Regions from separate parts of the Homo sapiens genome. Here regions 1, 2 and 4 are each linked to region 3. Evidence: promoter capture Hi-C in 16 types of primary human blood cells and fetal thymus (Javierre and others, 2016). All regions are on one chromosome and are shown on one strand. The core of a region is centred on a gene start or on the middle of the fragment in contact, and the rest is flanking DNA. Distances in the headings are between cores, read along the strand shown. Region 1 overlaps TMEM276-ZFTRAF1 (TMEM276-ZFTRAF1 readthrough). Region 2 has its middle 6.7 kb from the start of ADCK5. Region 3 holds the start of PUF60 (poly(U) binding splicing factor 60). Region 4 holds the start of CPSF1 (cleavage and polyadenylation specific factor 1).

Region 1 (2,832 bases), core at 19-2,518, 620 kb before region 3:
GGGGTCTCTGCGGCAGCCACAGCCCGTGGTGAGTAGCAGCCTTAGCTGTCCTGGAGATACCGGGGCCTCGTGGAGTCTAGGCAGGCTGGGGCACTGTGGCTGTGGCCGTGGCCAGGTGAGAAGCCCCATTCGCGCAGGAAAGACTGGCCACCTGGGAACCCACGCCTCCACGGAGGGACTTGCCGGCCACAGGCTGTGGGCTGCCCAAGAGGACTGTGCAGGCAGGGCTGCCTGCTGATTGGCAGCTCCGGATCAGGCCCGGTGCCTGCAGACCTGGTGCTCCCCTCGGGCAGGGCTGGGTGCCGCAGCCGCCTGCTGGCTTTTCTGGCAGCTCCTCTGTATCAGAACCAATAAAGTGCACTTGTTCTCGGAACCGCATCCTGTCTGTGTGTCTGCTTACCCCGCCCTGGGGGACACCCGGGGCTCGGGGCGGTGAGGGAGGCCAGCGTGGGTCGGGCACGCCTGGGGTGTGGCCTGACACGTGCAGCCTCTGGACTCTCCAGCTAATCCATGTTGATTCTGTTTGTGGTTGTTCCCCTCAAAGCTTGTGTGCACCTCCATTTGCCATAGTTGCGTTTGGCTTGCTTGTGACAAGCAGAGCCCGGTGTCCGGGTAAGTTGCCTTCCTCCCCGGCTGAGCCTGCCCTCGGCCTGGTCAGGGAAGGCGTTGCTGCCCAGCCCTGCCCACACTAACAGCCGGCTCTTTCCGGCCCTGTCTGTCTCCACAGAGGTCCAGTTCCGGCCGTACCGCACAGACGACTTCATCACGCGCCTGTACTATGAGACGCCCAGGTTCACAGTGCTGAACCAGACGTGGGTCCTGAAGGCTCGAGTCAACGACTCGGAGCGTAACCCCAACCTGTCCTGCAAGCGTACGCTCTCCTTCCAGCTCCTCCTCAAGAGCAAGGTCACGGCACCGCTGGAGTGCTCCTTCCTGCTGCTCAAGGGCCCCTACGACGACGTGAGGATCAGCCCCGTCATCTACCACTTTGTCTTCACCAACGAGAGCAACGAGACGGACTACGTGCCACTGCCCATCATTGACTCCGTGGAGTGCAACAAGCTGCTGGCTGCCAAGAACATCAACCTGCGGCTCTTCCTGTTCCAGATACAGAAGTAGGGCGGGGCCTCAGGATGTCCGAGGAGCCCACGGGCGGCATCCCAGCACCGCTGCCCTGTCCACCTGGCTGGCAGCTGCTTCACAGGACTATCTGATCACTTTAGCAAAGGAGGAGAACAAACGAAGCCAACACAGGGCAAGTCTGCATGCGTGCGCGACGGGGCCCCCGCCTCCGGCTCACCCCCCCGACCCCTGCCTCCCCTCCTTCCGAGGGCCGCCAGAGGCTGGGCTGACCCGAAGAGGAGACGGTGCACCAGGCGCCCCGAGGCTCAGAGACGGTGGCAGCAAGGAGGCCGAGAGGCACAGCGACCCTGCCCCAGCCCTTCTGTGCAGTCAGGCGGCGGTGCTGCTCCATCCCTGCGGGTTCCGGCGGGGCGCGGGGGCCTTGCTGACATCAGACGGGATATCCGAATATCTGATAGCAATTAAAAGGCAGCCTTGTTTCGTACTTTCTGTTTTGTTCGAGGGGAAGGCATGGCTGTGAATGGACAGCGTGGGGGCTTTGGTTTGGCCTGGGGGTCAGAGCCTGCCCCGCCCCCATCTGTGTGCCCGCACACGTCCCCCGAGGAAAGACTCAGAGACACTGCCTCCCCCTACACTCTGTCATGGGGTCTTGAGACTGAGGCTTGGGCAGGAAGATCCAGGTAGGGTCGGGGCTGCCCTGGCCAACCGGCCGCTCCCAGGGAGACAGGACTCAGCCACCAGGGCTCAGCAGGCATTTTCCGAAAGCAGGGTGAAATTGTCTCTTCCCAGGAAAAAGATTAAACTCCTTGCAGGCTCTTGGATAAGTTACACAATTTTAGTGAGAAAGAGTCTATTTACTGTAGATTCAGCCTTGAGGGCCCAGCGTCCCCAGGCTGTGTGGAAAGCTTGGGTCAGTGCTTGGGCGCCTGGCTGGGTGAGAGTCTGAGGTGTGTCCCCCATGCTGCTCTCGGGGTCCTGCTGCTGGCCCTGCATTCAGGGCTCGCTGCAGAGGTCAGAGGTTGGGCAGCCCAGCTTCTCACCTGGAGGAGGTGGGCCCTTCCCATCCTCACCCTGGCCGCCCCCTGATGTGCCCCGTGGTGGCTGAGCAGGGCTGGCCTAACAGGATGGGAAGGAACCCTGCCTGGAGGGGTAATCCCTGGTCCTTTCTTCCCCTGGGACTCCCAGGGCTACTGGGAAGGATACAGCTTGACGCCCCCACCTTTGCTTAGGAGATGTGGCTCTTCCGTGATAGCTTTTTGTTGCTTCAATACCAAAGAACTGGTTTCCTCTGCTCCAGTCAGGTGCATTAACTTGCCTCACAGCAGCCCAACCCGCCCCCACTGGCTGCTGGGGCCTGGCCCACATTGTCCTGTGCTTTGCTGGTCACGGGTCGAGGGCTGAGAAATGGAGAGGAACTGGGGGCAGAATGTAAGCGCCATCATCCGGGCGGCTGACCATGGCACAGCCCAGCATGACCCTCCCAGTCAGCTCTTCCCTCCCGGGCCGCCGCACTGCCCCTCACGGGCTGAAACTTTCTGGAGCTGTTTCTGAGAATGCTGTGGGTTTCTACTCCCAGGCCAGGGCGTGTGGCCTGCTGGGAGTGCCTCGCTGCCGGAGCCTTATCTCCTGCAGAGCTGATGTGGCCTGGCCACCAAGGGCATGGGAAGGCCCCATGTTTGGTTTTCTGCTGACCACAAAGAAAGACCCCACCCAGCCCCCAGCACATCCTTGGGAGCAGCTGCCTCTGAC
Region 2 (2,700 bases), core at 44-2,543, 540 kb before region 3:
TGTCAAAGGTTCATTTAACTAATTAATTTAGCTGGGTGTGGTGGCTCAGGCCTGTAATGCCAACACTTTGGGAGGCCCAGGCAGGTCCTGAGGTCAGGAGTTCAAGACCAGCCTGGCCAACATGGCGAAACCCCGTCTCTACTAAAATTACAAAATTAACTGGGCATGGTGGCGCATGCTTGTAGTTCCAGCTACTTGGGAGGCTGAGGCAAGAGAATCACTTGAACCCGGGAGGCAGAGGTTGCAGAGAACCGAGATCTCGCCACTGCACTCCAGCCTGGGCGACAGAGCAAAACTCTATCTCAAAAAAAACAAAACAAAACAAAAAAAACTGACCACAGTGGCTCATGCCTGTAATTCCAGCACTTTGGGAGGCTGAGGCAGGCAGATCACCTGAAGTTGGGAGTTCCAGACCAGCCTAACCAACATGGAAAAACCCTGTCTCTACTAAAAATACAAAATTAGCCAGGCGTGGTGGCCCATGCCTGTAATCCCAGCTACTCGGGAGGCTGAGGCAGGAGAATTGCTTGAGCTCAGGAGGTGGAGGTTGCAGTGAGCCGAGATTGAGCCATTGCACTCCAGCCTGGGCAAAAAAGTGAGACCTTGTCTCAAAATAAAATAAAATTAAATTAAATAAAAAATAAATCACACTGGGCCATAAAATGAAGCTGGTGTCAGCAAGTGTGGTCCAATTATTTACATAGGTGCAGAAACAGTGCAAATATCCCATATAGGCCACCTTACGTTTGCTTTGCTGGAAGTTTTCATAAGAAATATCAGATTGGGGCTGGGTGCCGTGGCTCACACCTGTAATCCCAGCACTTTGGGAGGCTGAGGCAGGTGGATCACTTGAGGTCGGGAATTCGCAACCAGCCTGATCAACATGGTGAAACTCTGTCTCTACTAAAAATACAAAAATTGCCGGGCGTGGTGGCTCACGCCTGTAATCCCAGCACTTTGGGAGGCTGAGGCGGGCGGATCACGAGGTCCAGAGATCGAGACCATCTTGGCTAACACGGTGAAACCCCGTCTCTACTAAAAATACAAAAAAAAAAAAAAAAAAAAATTAGGTGGGCATGGTAGCACGTGCCTGTAGTCCCAGCTACTCATGGCTGAGGCAGGAGAATCACTTGAACCCGGAAGGTGGAGGTTGCAGTGAGCCAAGATTGCACCACTGTGCCAGCCTGAGTGACAGAGTGAGACTCGGTCTCGAAAAAACAAAACAAAACAAAAATTAGCTGGGGGTGGTGGCAGACGCCTGTAATTTCAGCTACTCGGGAGGCTGAGGCAGAAGAATCGCTTGAACCCAGGAGGCGGAGGTTGCAGTGATCTGAGATCACACCATTGGACTCCAGCCTGGGTGACAAAAGTGAAACAGTCTCAAAGAAAAGAAAGAAATATCAGAGTGGACCTGTATTGTTTGCTTCTTTGCAGAGGCAAGAAACGCAATACCTATAATTTGGGTCAATTTCTATGTTCCTGGGCCTGCCAGGAAATCACCTTCCTGGTCACCTGCAAGGCCTGGGGTCTGCACCCTCAGGAGGATTTGCAGGCACTCCTTCATAACAGCAACCCAAGGTCCGCAGCAGCGGCTGGTCATCCCCAGTGAAAGAGCAGAACTCTCCATATGACAACCTGGACAAGGCCTTGGTGACCTAACCAATTCATCCAATTGTCTTCTGTAAAAGGAGAAGAGTCTCTTAACTGAATCTATGTGCTGTGGTTTGAAAGTGTCCCCCAGAGTTCATGGATTGCAAACCTGATCCCCAGTGTGGCAGTATTGGAGGTGGGACCTTTTTATTTTTTTCTGAGATGGAATCTCGCTCTGTCATCCCAGGCTGGAGTGCAATGGTGCGATCTTGGCTTGTCGCAACCTCTGCCTCCCAGGTTCAAACAATTCTCCCGCCTCAGCCTCCCGAATAGCTGGGATTACAGGCATGTGCCACCACGCCTGGCAAATTTTGTATATTTAGAGAGACGGGGTTTCTCCATGTTGGTCAGGCTGGTCTTGAACTCCTGACCTAGTGATCCGCCCGCCTCCACCTCCCAAAGTGCTGGGATTACAGTCGTGAACCACCACACCCCGCCAGAGGTGGGACCTTTAAGAGGTGATTAGGTCTTGAGGGCTTCACCCTCATGAAGGGATTAATGCCATTATTTCGGGAATTGATTCCTTATAAAAGGATGAGTTTGGCCCCTTTCCGTCCAGCCACATAATGCCTGCTGGCATGTTATGTGGCAGCAGGAAGGTCCTCATGAGATGTGGCCCCTCCCTCTTGGACCTCCAAATCTCCAGAACCAATAAATCCCAGTTTATTATCAATTACCCAGTCTGTGGCATTATAGCAGCACAAAACGAACTAAGACACTGTAGGGTCCAGCCCTATGGGGCTAAGCGGGTGTTGTCCCCATGTGCAGAGACGAGAGATTGTAGTAAATAAAGACACAAGACAAAGAGATAAAGAGAAAACAGCTGGGCCCGGGGGACCACTACCATCAAGACGCAGAGACCGGTAGTGGCCCCGAATGGCTGGGCGCGCTGATATTTATTGCATACAAGACAAGGGGGGCAGGGTAAGGAGGGTGAATCTTCTAAGTGATTGACAAGGTGAAGCAAGTCACATGATCATAGGACAGGGGGCCCTTCCCTCTTAGGTAGCCGAAGCAGAGAGAGAAGGCAGCAAACGTCAGCGTTTTCTT
Region 3 (2,700 bases), core at 17-2,516:
TTGAGCTAGGAGCTGCTGCAGAGAGGAGCCCTCTTCTCTGAGAAGCCTGATGGCATGCGGGTGGTCAGACCCAGCCCAGGGGTGGAGGCAGGGGTAGGACCCAGAGTCTCACTTACTCCCAGGCTTTCAGACAGGGCCTTGCTTGAGCAGGGCCTCAGAGCTCCTCTCCTGGAGCTCACGTCTCAGACACTGCAGTGCCTGCCAGCCCCGGTGGGTAGGGACAGAGGTCTGGGGTTTCCTTTCTGTAGCTGTGCTTTCACCCACGACCCTCAGACACTGGCCTCCATAGCCAAGTGGGCTGGAGTAGCTCTCGCTGTCCACCTTTCTTAAGCTCTGCAATATCCCAGCTCTTTGCCCTTGCAGGGTTTGTCTTTATAAAACCCCTTTCCTATAATTTTGGAAGGTTTCAGGAGGGAGGCGGGGAATATTCTGCCCTATTTAAGTAGAAGTGTCTGTATTAAATTCTAAATGTTCCCAGGGTTGAAAGGAGGCCTGCCCGGGATGCCTTGTGGCCTTAGGCAGCTGAAGGTGCCTGAGCTTACAGATGTGGCTTCTTCGGATGACCGAGTTGGGGTCTCGGGACTGGGTGCAGCAGATGGCAAATGTCCAGGACAGGCAGCTTTCCCAGCAGTACTGACAGACACCTTGGGCCATGAAAGCCAGTTCAGGGACTAACGGGGCCTGCGGGCTGCGGGTCTAGCGACTGATGTCAGCCAACCTAGGGTCATCGGTTCCCTGGAAGGAGAAAAAGCTGCCAATTGAACGGGGCCTCCCGGTCCCAGGGATGTCGCGACGCGGGGACGACGCATCTCACGACGTCAGCCTGAAACACGCGGGCCTTTCATCACCCGAGACTCCTCCAGCCCAGGAGGGCCCCGCTCTTTCGCCTGCCTCCTGGGGGAGAGCCTCTGGACGACGCACGCGACAGCGTTTTCTCCAAAAAAGGCAGAGAAGAGAAGCGTAGCAGTGGCCGCAAGGGCGACGGGCGGCGAAGGGTACTACGCACGCCCGCGTCGGCCACGCGGAGAGATACGCCCGACTCGAGTCCCGCGGCGCACGCCCCTAGACGCCCGAGGTGCGCGGGCCACGCCCCTCGCCCGGCCAAGAGCACGCCCCTTCCGTCGCCCCTCCCGGGGGCGTTTACCGTTCCTCCCCGCCCCGGAAGCGCGTTCTTACCTCCTTCCTCGCGAGAGTTCCGTGCACCGGCACCCAGATCGCGCGAGACAGCGGAAGGAGCAAGAGTGGGAGGCGCGCGCGGAGGCCGCGACGGACGCAAGATGGCGACGGCGACCATAGCTCTCGTAAGTGAGCCCCCCCATGAGCGCGGGCGGCCCTCGGCTTGCGGGGCCGGGTCGTCGACCCAGCCTGGGCGCGGAGGGCCTCCCAAGAACGCGGCGGTCTTCCCAGGTCCCGCGCGGACTCCCTCGTGTCCCCGGGTCGCGTGAGGCGGGGGCGGGGCGGGCGCGCGCCGGCGGCCGGCTCGCGGCCTCAGCTTCCGGCCTGCGGACCCCAGCTTCCGGCGGGGCGGGGCGGGGGCCTGGGCGCGGCGTGTGGCCCTTGCGGGCGAGCCTGGCGGGGTTGCGTTCCTGTCCGCTAGGTCCGGCAAGCGGGGGTCGTCGTCCTCCCTTTGCCGACGGGGGTGTGCGCCGTGGTCACGACGGAAGCGGGGTTCTGGGGGTGACGCGTGGGCCTTCGGGTTGATGGGATCAGAAGGGGACGGGACCTGTAGAAAGGGGCCTGCAGCTCAGAGCATGGGGCGGCCTTGGCTCACTACGCCTGCAGCTGTGAATTCGTTCTCCGGTGCTGGAGAGGGATCTGGTTATCTCCATTCTCTTGTCTCCACGTGGAAAGGAAGGACGTGCGCTCTCATCCTACGTGTTTTGAGAAATCGCATTGTCCCCAGCTCTGCGGGAGGATCTGGGGACGCAGTGGGGAACCAGACAGGCAGTTGGAGGTCTAGTGCGCACCAGAAGCCAGTTCCCACCCAGGGTGCCATTTGCTGGGCGCCCTAGGGAGCTGCGTGGGCATCCAGAGGAGTGAGTCGCCCCCTGCTCTGCTCAGTGCCCACTTCCCCGGGCAGGGCAGGCGTTATTAACGTAGAGGGAGAACACCCATGCACACAACACATGCACGATGAAGTCTGGTCTTTCCTTCTCACCACTTAGCTTATAGGACCTAATCCCCTTTTGGACCTTTCTCAGCCGCAGTTTACCCCTGTATTACTTGTCACCCTTCCCCCAGCCCACACCCAGCGGGATGGGATAAGGTCTGTTTGAGAAGACAGCTTGGGCAAATGGCTGAAGGCTGGACTGGCAGGACCAGGGAGTGTCCTTAGACTGCCATTGCCAGGCCCCCAGCGGGCGGGCTGGTCCCATGTCCCACTGAGGCAGAAACCAGTTACTAGGGGGAGAGAGGCATTTACACAAGATACCCAGCTTGCGAGGGCAGCCCAGTGTGTGATTCACAGGACTGGCTAACTCCACTCTTTCTACTATGTCCTTTCTCTTGAAGCCACAGGAGTAAGTGACCTTTGAGGGGCACTCCAGAGAGAAAGGATGTAAGGGTTGAGGACCTGGTGACTGTCTTCAGGCAGCAGTCAGAGAGTTGATGGTGAAGGAGGAGGAGGCTCAGAGACAAGGACTGGACATGGGAAGGTGGAGGAGGAGAGTGGATGCCTGACTCCCCTAGCACCCGCAGAAC
Region 4 (2,700 bases), core at 91-2,590, 580 kb before region 3:
TACGACTCCTCAGCACAGACCCTTTATAGGTGTTGGGCTGGGGGACGGTAAGGTCTTTCCTTTCCCATGAGGCCATATCTCAGGCTGTCTCAGTGGGGGGAAACCTTGGACAATTCCCAGGCTTTCTTGGGCAGAGGTCCCTGCGGCTTCCCGCAGTGCATTGTGTCCCTGGTTAATCGAGAATGAAGAATGGCGATAACTTTTACCAAGCATACTGCCTACAAACATATTAACAAGGCACATCCTGCATAGCCCTAAATCCATTAAACTTTGATTCATTACAGCACATGTTTCTGTGAGCACAGGGTTGGGGCTAAAGTTACAGGTTAACAGCATCTCAAAGCAAAAACAATTTTTCTTAGTACAGATCAAAATGGAGTTTCTTATGTCTTCCTTTTCTACATAGACACAGTAACAATCTGATCTCTCTCTCTTTCCCCCACAGTTTTTGTATTTTTAGTAGAGACTGGGTTTCACCATGTTGGCCAGGCTGGTCTCGAACTCCTGACCTCAGGTGATCCGCCCACCTCGGCCTTCCAAAGTGGGATTACAGGCGTGAGCCACCGCCTCCTATTGACTTTTAAAAGGCGGTTGAGTGTGGCTCAGGGGTCACACGCCTGAGCATCCAAGTGGCCCTTCCCCCACTGCCCAATGAGCAAGTAGATTTGGATGCAACAAAAACACATATTTCCACGCCATTTTCTTGGGCGTAACGATACTTTCTTGTTTTATTTCTCATGATTCCGTTTCTAGGTCCTAGGCCCGTGCCTGATCCAGGATCCAAGCTCCCGGAAGCTGGCACTGGGCCCGCCCTGGGTAGGCAGCAGTGAGCAAGGCGGGCGGACAGCGCTGGGCTCGCGGGGTCCTGCGTCCTCCGCGGGAGTGTTGGCGGCGGGGGTCGCTCTGCGCGGGGACACTGGGCAGAGGGGGCGTGCGGCCTCTCTAGGAAGCTTTCTCGGAGCCCCAGACACTGGCGAGGCGCCGCGCCCCCTCTTCTGGATTCCGGCGCGCCCCCTGAACCCGGGAGCTACGAGCGGAGTCGCTTCTCCCTGCAGCCGTCCTGGGTCTGGCGCGGACGCACCCCCCGGCCGACCCCGAGCCGCTGCAGCCGGCGCCCCTGCGGCTTCCAACCCGCGCTGCTCCGCCCGCAGCGGAGGCCCCGCACTTCGCGCGCTAGGGGTTTGGGTTCCGGACGCCCAGCCCGGAGCCGAGCCGCCAGCCGCCCGCATCCCGGGCCACTAGGGCCCGCTGTCGCCCCTGCAGCCACGCTCACGCGGCGGCGCTGCGCAGGCGCAGAAGCCCGGAACCTTCCCGCCCAGCTTCTGGGCCCGGCCGGACTGAGTTCGCTGCTGTCCCGGTTCCTCTCGAGTCGGCTCCAACTGCCAGGTGGGCGGCCGGGCGGGCGGCCGAGGCGGCAGCGCGAGGCCGGGGAGGGGCGCGGTGCGGGGCCGGGCTCCTGCGTGGGCGACCCCGCTCACCCTTCCTCTCCCGGCCTTGCGCAGCCCGGGTTGGCGCCATGTACGCCGTGTACAAACAGGCGCATCCGCCCACCGGTCTGGAGTTCTCCATGTACTGCAACTTCTTCAACAACAGCGAGCGCAACCTGGTAGTGGCCGGGACCTCGCAGCTCTACGTGTACCGCCTCAACCGCGACGCCGAGGTAGGTCGGGCCCTGGGAGCCCTCCCGGCTGTCCGCGACGTGGGTGCTCTCACCGCCCCCGGTTGCAGATGGAAGAGCCAAGCCCCAGACAAGTTGAGTGATTTGCTTAACGTTCCTCAGCCTGAGGAGCCAGGACATGACCCTGAATCTCTTGTGCTCAGATCCTTTCTCACAGCTGCTACCCTGTTCTGCCTCCCTTCCTACCCCACCGGGAAGGGCGCGCTGCCCTAGCCGTCTTGTTTGCTCTTCCGTTTTTTCAGCAAGTTGTTCGGAAGGAGCGAACGCCCACTGTGCGCTGGGTAGCAGAGATACCATGTGAACCACACCTGCAGACACTTGGGGAAGGGGAACATCTAAATAAACACACCTGCCCCTGCAGCAAGTGCTGCTGCGGGAATAAAGGAGTGAAGGAAGGAGACTGTGTATTTCCAGTCGCATGATCAGAAGAGCCTGTCTGAGGCAGAGCGGGAGTTTGTCGGGGGAAGGACATTGGTAGCACAAGGAACAAGGCCAGGTCTAGGATGGGGACAGACTGTTGACAGGAGTCTTGGTACAGTGGGGCACACGCCTCAAGGGTTTGGGAAATACAGTGGTGTTTTGGTTGCCGGAGGGTTGAAAGCTGGTCCAGGAAAGCAACTTGCAAGAGGCAGTTTCTCCATTGCTCTTGAAGGGAGGAGTACCTCTTACCCAGGCCCAGGGATGGTGAGAGGAGGGTGTTCCAGGCAGAAGAAACAGCCTGTGCACAGGCCCAAAGCAGTTGAGGGTGGAGAGACATGCACAGTGTGGCCGTGGTATAGACTGGATGTGGTGGTGGGGATGGAGGGAGGTAGGCCGTGGTCAGGACTATTCTCCACAAAGCAGGGAGGAGCCACAAGAGGGTTGTGAATAGGGGCTGACCCAGCAGGCAGATGGGTCAGAAGCTCAGGCCAAAGGAGGCCAACCCTCCTGGGCACCTACCCCGGCATACATATGTATTTGCTGGCCAGGGCTCCTGTCCTCTGAAGGCTTGACGAGGGCTGGAGTTTCTGCTCCTAACACAC

What was found. The method cuts DNA at HindIII sites, captures the fragments that hold promoters and counts their contacts. A CHiCAGO score of 5 or more calls a contact.
Region 1: a contact is called between a fragment that was not itself captured here and the fragment with the promoter of PUF60 in region 3, in 1 of 17 cell types (monocytes). The highest score is 6.2, in monocytes.
Region 2: a contact is called between a fragment that was not itself captured here and the fragment with the promoter of PUF60 in region 3, in 1 of 17 cell types (monocytes). The highest score is 6.0, in monocytes.
Region 4: the fragment with the promoter of CPSF1 here is called in contact with the fragment with the promoter of PUF60 in region 3 in 8 of 17 cell types (M0 macrophages, erythroblasts, M1 macrophages and 5 more); the score reaches 14.0 in M0 macrophages.

What each region holds. Positions count from the first base shown.
Region 1 is chr8:144,448,666-144,451,497 of GRCh38, reverse strand. TMEM276-ZFTRAF1 (TMEM276-ZFTRAF1 readthrough) reads left to right here. Exons shown (of 5, transcript NM_001408018.1): 5 at 728-1,916. The coding sequence ends at 1,119. It overlaps ZFTRAF1 (zinc finger TRAF-type containing 1), which reads left to right. Exons shown (of 4, transcript NM_001330618.2): 4 at 728-1,916. The coding sequence ends at 1,119. Among named protein-coding and RNA genes, the nearest start is that of TONSL, 5.6 kb to the right of the region's middle. The HindIII fragment of the contact is 1,444 bases long and covers 547-1,990 here.
Region 2 is chr8:144,365,973-144,368,672 of GRCh38, reverse strand. No RefSeq gene overlaps it. Among named protein-coding and RNA genes, the nearest start is that of ADCK5, 6.7 kb to the left of the region's middle. The HindIII fragment of the contact is 9,345 bases long and covers 1-2,700 here.
Region 3 is chr8:143,827,881-143,830,580 of GRCh38, reverse strand. PUF60 (poly(U) binding splicing factor 60) reads left to right here and starts at 1,266. Exons shown (of 12, transcript NM_078480.3): 1 at 1,266-1,301. The coding sequence starts at 1,278. It overlaps LOC107986985 (a long non-coding RNA gene), which reads right to left and starts at 1,301. Exons shown (of 3, transcript XR_001746138.2): 1 at 1,177-1,301; 2 at 543-735. It also overlaps a transcript of NRBP2 not described here. RefSeq lists enhancers at 1-1,174, 495-1,194 and a silencer at 979-1,548. The HindIII fragment of the contact is 7,973 bases long and covers 1-2,700 here.
Region 4 is chr8:144,407,975-144,410,674 of GRCh38, reverse strand. It overlaps CPSF1 (cleavage and polyadenylation specific factor 1), which reads left to right and starts at 1,340. Exons shown (of 38, transcript NM_013291.3): 1 at 1,340-1,386; 2 at 1,503-1,660. The coding sequence starts at 1,517. RefSeq lists a silencer at 874-1,533 and an enhancer at 1,804-1,853. The HindIII fragment of the contact is 8,279 bases long and covers 953-2,700 here.